Regions from separate parts of the Homo sapiens genome. Here all the other regions are linked to region 2. Evidence: promoter capture Hi-C in 16 types of primary human blood cells and fetal thymus (Javierre and others, 2016). All regions are on one chromosome and are shown on one strand. Each heading gives the region's core, a stretch centred on a gene start or on the middle of the fragment in contact. The rest is flanking DNA. Distances are from core to core; before and after follow the strand shown.

Region 1 (2,700 bases), core at 119-2,618, 410 kb before region 2:
TCCTCTCCTGTTTATGGGGGGTGGGGGGGAGCACAACAGATACTCTTACTTGAAAAATAAAGTATCTGTTCAGATTTTCTAAGTAAATTTCCATTACTGGGTTTGGGAAAAAATCCCTACTACATTGTCTGTAACAAAAAGGTGCCTGCGCCTTCTTTCAACTGCCTGAAGCTTGTGAACCGACTGAATACATTTAAAGGGCTCACAGATCTCAGGACGCAGTCTCCCCGCACAAGAAACTTAAAAACGCCTTTCAGTCTCGCAGAGACCTACTTGGATGTTTCCAAGTTCCATCGTTTGGTAGCTACCCAGCATCTGGGGCGAAAAAAAAGGACTTATCCTTGGAAAAGCGGCTTCTTGAGTCTCAACAACCGGAGGGACACAGTAGGGAAGTCAGGGCTCACCTAAAACCCTCCACCCCAGCAGACAGTCCGGCAAGCCCCGGCTCACGTTTGTTTCCGTGCCCGCGAAACTCTCAATGAAAAGCATCTCACAAAAGGCCTCCCCTGCTCCCCGCGCCGAGGACTCACCAGCACCGTGGTGCAGATGGATCTCAGCTCGGACTCCACTTTCTCCCGATAGTCCTTAATCAGCTGCAACTTCTTGTCGGAGGTGTCGGTCTTCTGCTCGATGCTAGAGATGACCCTCCAGGCGGACCTGCGGCCCCCGACCACGTTCTTGTAGGCCACGGAGAGCAGGTTGCGCTCCTCGTTGGACAGCTCGGCGCCCTGCTCGGTCACTGCCTTCATGCAGGTGGCCATGTCGTCGTAGCGCTCGGCCTGCTCGGCCAGCTTGGCCTTCTGGATCAGCTCAGTCTTCTCCATGGCGGGCGCGGGGCCGGGGCCGGGGCGGAGGGCGAGGAGAGCGAGGGCGAGCGCCGACCCGCAGCGGGAGGAGCCTCGAGAGCTGCGGAGGGGCGGGGCGGCGAGGCGAGAACAAAAAGCAGAGAGGGAGCGCCGTCAGACAATGCGGCCCGCCGCCCGCTTTTGTCTCCCGCACACGCGGCCGCTTGAATTTCCCTCTCCCCCGCCCCCTCCCCCGCTGGGCACCCGGGGAGGCCGCGGCCCGCGGCTGGAGGAGGCGGGGGCGGCGCGGAGGCCCCGCGCGCAGGGAGCCCGAGCCGCGGCCGCTCCCGCCACCCCCGCCCGGCCGGCCCAAGATGGAAGCGACCGTTGGCCCCGCACCTTCCCGCCCGGAGCCGTCCCTGAGGGGAGCGGCATCGACAACCGGCTGCTCTCAAGGGCGGCACCTCCGCCCGGCCCTCAATCCGAGCGCGGCCGGAGGAAGCCCGCGGGCCGACCCAGGCGCTCACCTTCACGTCTCCGCGGCCGCGACGCGAGTCCCACCACTTTGATCTGCTTTTGGCTTTAGCTGAGGACCCTCCCGTGTCAGCCTACCCCGGGGCCGAGGGGCGGTCCACCGCCCAATGATGCGCCGAGCTTCTCCCGAGAGTCCCGCCCCCAGCGCGCCGCTGGCCAATGAGGACCGAGCGCGCGGAAGGGGGCGAGGGGGGCGGAGCGGGAGGGAACGCGGAGGCTAGGAGGGTGGGTCGGTACGGGGAAGTTCGGTTGGCCGGCAGGCTGCGGCTTCGGCCACGGGGTTTCCTCCAATTAGATCCAGGGTAAAAGGACGTCACTGTTGCCATGGCGATGCCGTTACCAACTCCCCTCAGCCTCCCCGCCACCCCGGCACTTCTGGGTGCGGCACGAGACCCAGAGGCGCGCACGACCTCCTAGGCGGCGGCTGCGTCTCCCGCTGCGGATGGTGCATTGCATCTCACGGGCTCTGGCCGAGGCTGGACTTCGGAGGGTGACATATTCAGCTGTTTTAGAGCACGGGGGCCTTTCTTTCCTCCACCTTTCTATCCGTGACAAAGGTTTGGATCCCAAGACACTAAACCCAGACCTTAATGACGTTGCCATTAGGGCTCCGAATTAAGCAAACCGCATCCCCATTAAAGAAGAATTGATTCTGGAGACGGTGTCTTCAGTATGGCATTTACATGATAAATTCAAGTTTTCAGATGGGCATCCTAAAACAAAAAATTCCCTTGTGAAAAGGTAGGTCCCAGAAGATCCAGGGGAGTTTCTGTGACAATGCCAAGTATTGTGGTTTTCTTTAAAATGAGAAATGACATTAAGCACAATTTGCAGGAAAACACCTATTACTACCCCTTCCCACCCCCGCAAAAAAAAACCCTGCCCATAACATCTCTCCCCGCAAAAAAAAAGCAATTTTTATGTATCTTTTAGGCTTTCCAGGTTATGCACCTAAATACATCATTTTTCACATCGTTGTCACATGTGCACACGCTTTTGTTTCTGGTATTATTTGTGAGAGGTCACTTGAAAAGCTGAAATCCTCTCCCTGGATGTTGATTTCTGATTTTCTCCTCCTGGGGAACACCCTGCTGAAGCGAGAAAGATTCCCCCAGGCCCCTCCCATTCAGGGTCATCCCTGGCAGCTCCCTTTCCTCTTAAACCACTCCTGTCTCTCCTTGCACTTCCCCAGTTCCCTAACTCCATCCAGGTAGGGTGGCTGCCCTGCCCGTCTGGCGCGTGGTCCCTGTGCCATCTTAAGATGAGAATTGCCCTCTGGGTTCACGCTGCTATGATCCCGATTCCAGCAGGTCTAAGGAGAATGGATCATAAAGAATTTCCCATTCTGAGTGGAGACTGGAGCAAATCCGGAGAATCTCTA
Region 2 (2,723 bases), core at 224-2,723:
TGGAGTGGACGCAGGGAGACCAGTTATAAGGCGAATGCAGGAGTCCAGGCAAAAGAGAATATTCCAGTGTGTATCTTAAGACTTAACTTTTTACACACAGAACACCCTGCGCCCCTCTCAGAGCCTCCGGGGTCTTCATGCGAGCAGTTTATCACGGTTCTTTCGTCTTAAACCCTCTTACTATTTCAGCAAACACCCTCTCCTCAGCCTGGTCAACCCCTCTGCCCAACCCGAGTGGGCCCCGAAGGAACAAGTGGGGACCAGAGTCCTGCTCATGTGAGTGGTGGGGCCCAGCCCGTTCCCCTAAGACCAGAATTCTCTCGCTCAGAGCAAAGCCCCGGGGTGCCGGGATTCTCTCTCTGCTCCCGCTCCCTGGATGGAGCTTTTAAAAAAGGAGGATTCCTCACTGCGGCCTCTGCCCCTTGCACTGAGCGCCAACCCGCATCACAGCTCAGCAAAGGCGCGCGCAGTGAACAGACGGAGGAGGGGTGGCTCCTCGCTGAGCTGAAGGCTGCGGCGACGAAAATAAACAGCATGGTTCCTGCTCTCCACGAACCTGGCGCTGCAGACGTGGGCAAACCACACCAAGAGACGCGAGCAACCGAAATATAGGGAGAAAAAAAAAGGTGCCCTGGACAGCGGGCTAGATGTCTCCTGCAGGCTCGAGGACTTCCCGGAGGGGGCGGCGTTTTCTCGGGGCCTGGGAAGAATGGGCGGGTTTCAGCGGGCGCCTTCTGGGTGACTGCCCGTTTCGGCTTCCCCTGACCCCGTAACAGAGCGGAAGAGGCCCAGAGACGCCAGAGGAGGGGCGTCAGCGGGACACTCAGGCCAATAAGCTCTGACTCCCGCTGTCTGCAAAAATGACCGGATGCAGGAATGTCACCTAGAACCGGCCAGCTTTCCGACCTCTCCGGTCAAGGACGCATTCCTAAGAGACGAAGGGAGAATGACAGAAGTTAAAAACAACCAAACAAAAGCCAGGTTGAGGCCTCTAGGTGGGTCTCCGCTACCGATGGATTCAGCCGGTGGGGCTGCAGGAGGTTCCTATAAGCGTGGTCCCCTCTCCCCGCACCGAGTCCGGCCCCGGCCCTGGGATTTCCCCAGCCGCCGCCCCGCCCCCTCCGCCCCGCCGCCCCCGCCGCCCCGCCGCCCCCTCCGCCCCCGCCGCCCCCTCCGCCCCCGCCGCCCCCTCCGCCCCGCTTGCCCCTGGCGCCGCTGCGACCTTTCCCTTACTTTCCAGGGCCTCAGGCCCCGCCCCTCGCTCCGACCAAAACACGTGCCGCGTCCCGCCCTGCCCGATCACGCCGCGGCCAGGCTCCGATCACGCGGCCCCCCGCGGCGCTCATTGGCCGGCCGGGCACGAATTGGCTGGTGGTGGCCGGCCCCGCCCCGGCAGGGGCGCGGTGTATTTTGGTTCGCCTCCGCGCCCCGCCCCGCCAGCCGCTCCCTCCGCGGCCGCCCCGCCCCTCCCGCGCCGCGAGGGCCGCGCCGGGGCAGAGCCGCGCGGGCGGGCGAGGCGCGTGCCGGCCGCAGGAGCTCCGGGTTGCCGCCGCCGCCGCCGCCCGCAGCCCACGTGCGGCCGCTGCTGCGCCCGAGCTCACGCCCCGCGGCCGCTTTGTTGCTCCCGGCCGGCCTGCACGATGCACACGCCGGACTTCGCAGGCCCAGACGACGCGCGCGCAGTGAGTGGTGGGGCTGCCGCGGCGGGACTACTCGTCTGAGCGAGGGGCGAGGCGGGGGAAGTGGTGCGGCACTCGCGCGCCTGTAAATGCGGGAGGTGGGGCGTGCAGGGCTTCGCTGCGGCCGCGCCGGTAGGGGCCTGGGCGGGCTCCGGAGCCGGGCGGGGCGGCGGCCGCGACGGGCGCGCCCGGGTCGGCGGGGGCGAGGAGGGGGCGTGTTCCCCGCGCAGCTTTGTCTTGCGCTTCCTGGGCGGCCCCGCCCCGCTGGCCCCGCGGCTATTTCCAGCCATGACGTCACCCCGGTCCTGTGAGCCGGACGGCCGTTGGGCGGGGGAGCGGCTGGCGGGAACGCGGCACGCGGCCTTGGGGGCGGGGCAAGAGCTGCTGGCGGGAACGCGGCACGGTTTTGGGGGCGGGGCACGCGGCCGTCGGGCGGGTTAAGAGCGGCTAGCGGTAGTGCCGCTCGGGCCTGGGGGCGGGCAAGGTCTAGGGGCCGGGGCAACGACGGGAGGCGGGAGCGCCGCACTGCCTTGGAGGCGGGGCAACGCTTGGAGGCGGGAACGCGGCACGCGAGCGTTGGGGGCCCTAAGCGTCGCGACCTGGGGGCTTCGGGGAGGTAGCCGTGGACGTGGGCAGAGCGCGGGCCTCGTGGTGTGCGGGCACTGTGGGCCGGGCGAGCCCCTTCCCGCCCGTGTGGTGAGTCGGCCTCGGCGCCCGGTTCTGTGACATCACAGGGGGTTTAGTGGCGCAGCCTGCGGGACAGAGGCCGGGGATTTGAGGTGGCCTCGTCTTGTTTGATCTCGGGGAACCTCGGCAGACGGAAAGCTTTGATGCTTTGGTGCATGGCAGATAGAGAGGAAACGTGTATCTTCGTACATTTAAAGTTTCCTTTCCTTTTTTTTTTTTTTGATAGGGAGTCTCGCTCTATCGCCCAGGCCGGAGTGCAGTGGGCGCGCGATCTCGGCCCACTGTAACCTCCCTGGGAGGGAGGGGTATTACTCTTCTCAGAGTAATATCACCCTCTCGCCCCCGGCTTAGTTTTCT
Region 3 (2,700 bases), core at 143-2,642, 360 kb after region 2:
CCATCACCACCACCGCCGCCACCACCGCCACTGCCACCGCCACCATCACCGCCACCACTACCGCCACCGCCACCACCACCGCCACCGCCACCGCCACCACCACCACCACGAGTTGAGGGACTCTGGGATCAGAAGGCACTTTCCAGCACATTCACACCATTGGCCGTGGATGTTGTGGGTCAGGTGATGGGCACTGGAAGGGCCTTCCGCTTCTCTCTGCCCCTGGCCCTTGGTCATGTACAGCAGGCCGCTCCCCGGGCAGTGGAGAAGCAGCACCTGCATACTAAGGCTCGAGTCCCAGCCTCCCCTACCAGCCTCCCTCTCCACGTCCCCAGACACTCATGCGTTCCTTCCCTTGAGGTGGGTTCATGGAGCACGTACCCTGTGTCAGACAAGCTTCCAGGCTCTGGGCTTCTGATGGAGAACAGACCAGAGTAAACCTGGCCCCAAGGACCTTGAGCTCCACTCAAGGGGAGACAGACAGTGAACTCAACAAAACAGAAATGAGAGAAAGGATCAAGCTGGAAAGGGGATAAAGAATGAGTGTCGGTTTTGGATAGAGTGCTTGGGGAAGGCCTTCCTGAGATGAGACCTGACCAAAGGCCTGCAGGAGGTCAGGGACGGGCGTGCTTCTAGCTAAGGAGCAGCTGGTGCAAAGGGCCTGTGGCAGACGTGCACCCGTGGCAAGGAGGGGGCGAGCAGGCGGCTCAGCCAGGTCGGAGTGGGTCACACCTGAGGGGCAGGACGCTGGCAACCCCGACCGCTGAGGAAGACAGGTGCGAGCAGCATCTCGGCACAGCCAGACCCCCACCATACGGCAGCCCTCTGTGTCCCTTAAATAAGGATGCCTCCTCCCAGGCTTAAGAGATCATTGTTGCTCATAGTGATTTGTGTAGCCAACAATTCTTCTGGAAGAAGTTAGATGAACAGGGCCATGGAGATTTGGGGCCGGAAGAGCAGGACCCCAGGCTTGCCTCCCCTCTAGTGCTGGCCAGGCCGTGGATCCCAGGCGGGCATCTCAGAGAGCCATCTGAGCGGCCTTTCTGGAAGTGCCCTCCTAGGCAGACGCTGGTCATGAGGCAGGGCAGCGGGGAAGGGACAATCCTCCTGTGTTGTACATTGAGGGTTATATTTAGGGTGACTTGGGATGACTTGGCAGTATCACTTCCTGTGGTCGTCCCCTCCAGCCCTCAGCCACGGAGGGCAGATCCTGTCTGACAAGCATTGTGGGCAGACACGTGCCTGCACACACGTACACACCCACATGCACACATACACACACGCACACACATACACACATTGTGGGCAGGCACAACTTGGCATTCTCATCTGCCCTGGAATTGGTGGAGGGCTGGGGACATTGTCCTGGCCCTTCTGCAGGACCGCCAGGTGCCTGGCGGGGGAATCCTAGCCGTCAGCATCTCCGGAGCATCTGCTCCATGTCGGGCTCTGTGTGAAGGGCTGCATCCAGATCCCACATGAGCAAGACCGGCCTAGCCTCCCCATCTGGTTGGGAGATGCCAGGCAGAGGTGGAAGGAAGGGCGGCTGACCTGCCCCTTAGTCTGCTCAGCCACACAGGCAGCCACAGCCGAGGCTGCACAAGGACACTCCCCTGACCTTGCTGCCTGCTGGCCCCGGGTCTCCAGGCCAGGTCCGAGCCAGCCAGGCTCCTCCCCACCCATGTCACCGGCCTCTCTAGGTGGAGTCCACAGTGATCTTTGCTCCCCTTCCCCAGGCATCCAGCACCACACCAGGCACAGGGCCTGGTATTTCTGGGACAGCCCAGATTACACGTTTTCTCTCAGTTACCCCCTAGAATATTCTTGGACTTCTCAGACCCCATGTGCAAATTTTTAGCTTAGAAGTAATCACTGGGATCATAGACGATGTTTAGCAAATATCTGTTCTTTTGGGTGTTCCTAGGCCCCCAGAGGGTCTCCGGGAAACTGGCTCTTTTGCTGAGGCTAGAGACTATCTGGGCTAGAATGTGTCTGATGGGGCTCTCGGAGGGTGCACAGACAGTGCCGCGGTGGCCGAAGATCCACTATTCCAAGGCCGGATCTGCAGAGGATTTGGAAGTTGTCTGTAAGGAGCGCCTAGATCACCCGGACCTTCTCTCTCCCTCCTTGACTTCCTTCCTGCCTCTCGTCAAACAATTACTGTGTGCTTCCTGTGTTCTAGGCGCTGTGCTAATAATTGGTTATGGGATTATTCCTAGCCACACCCTGGGTAAATGGAACCCAGCTCTCTGTCCTTGGGAAAAGGGTCAGGAGAGAACTGGGGCCCAGCTGGGAAGCTGGAGGCTTGAGGCTGCTGGTCCATGTTGGAATGCTGTCTCCCTCTGCCATCCAGCACCCAAGCCCGGCGCCAGGCTCAGAGCAGGAACTGAAGCTTTTGCTGTTGTTGTTGTTTTTGTTTTTTGAGACAGTCTCGCTGTGTCTCCCAGGCTGGAGTGCAGTGGTGTGATCTCAGCTCACTGCAAGCTCCGCCTCCTGGGTTCAAGCGATTCTCTGCCTCAGCCTCCTGAGTAGCTGGGATTACAGGCGCGCACCACCACGCCCGGCTAATTTTTGTATTTTGAGTAGAGACGGGGTTTCACCATCTTGGCCAGGCTGGTCTTGAACTCCTGACCTCAGGTAATCTGCCCGCCTCGGCCTCCCAAAGTGCTGGGATTGCAGGCATGAGTCACCGCACCCGGC

Evidence for each region. Contacts are between HindIII fragments. The CHiCAGO score rates a contact against its expected background, and 5 or more counts as called.
Region 1: the fragment with the promoter of YWHAQ here is called in contact with the fragment with the promoter of KLF11 in region 2 in 1 of 17 cell types (naive CD8 T cells); the score reaches 5.8 in naive CD8 T cells.
Region 3: a fragment that was not itself captured here is called in contact with the fragment with the promoter of KLF11 in region 2 in 1 of 17 cell types (monocytes); the score reaches 5.6 in monocytes.

What each region holds. Positions count from the first base shown.
Region 1 is chr2:9,629,629-9,632,328 of GRCh38, forward strand. It overlaps YWHAQ (tyrosine 3-monooxygenase/tryptophan 5-monooxygenase activation protein theta), which reads right to left and starts at 1,369. Exons shown (of 6, transcript NM_006826.4): 1 at 1,313-1,369; 2 at 531-906. The coding sequence starts at 824. RefSeq lists enhancers at 1-857, 601-700 and silencers at 821-1,170, 1,371-1,470, 1,521-1,690. The HindIII fragment of the contact is 4,477 bases long and covers 170-2,700 here.
Region 2 is chr2:10,042,077-10,044,799 of GRCh38, forward strand. KLF11 (KLF transcription factor 11) reads left to right here and starts at 1,474. Exons shown (of 4, transcript NM_003597.5): 1 at 1,474-1,682. The coding sequence starts at 1,641. KLF11-DT (KLF11 divergent transcript) reads right to left here and starts at 1,325. Exons shown (of 3, transcript NR_135558.1): 1 at 1,234-1,325; 2 at 557-928. RefSeq lists a promoter at 732-1,631 and silencers at 1,318-1,547, 1,838-1,887, 2,008-2,057, 2,098-2,167. The HindIII fragment of the contact is 6,616 bases long and covers 1-2,502 here.
Region 3 is chr2:10,399,499-10,402,198 of GRCh38, forward strand. All of the region lies in intron 2 of HPCAL1 (hippocalcin like 1), which reads left to right. Among named protein-coding and RNA genes, the nearest start is that of SNORA80B, 46 kb to the right of the region's middle. The HindIII fragment of the contact is 1,996 bases long and covers 395-2,390 here.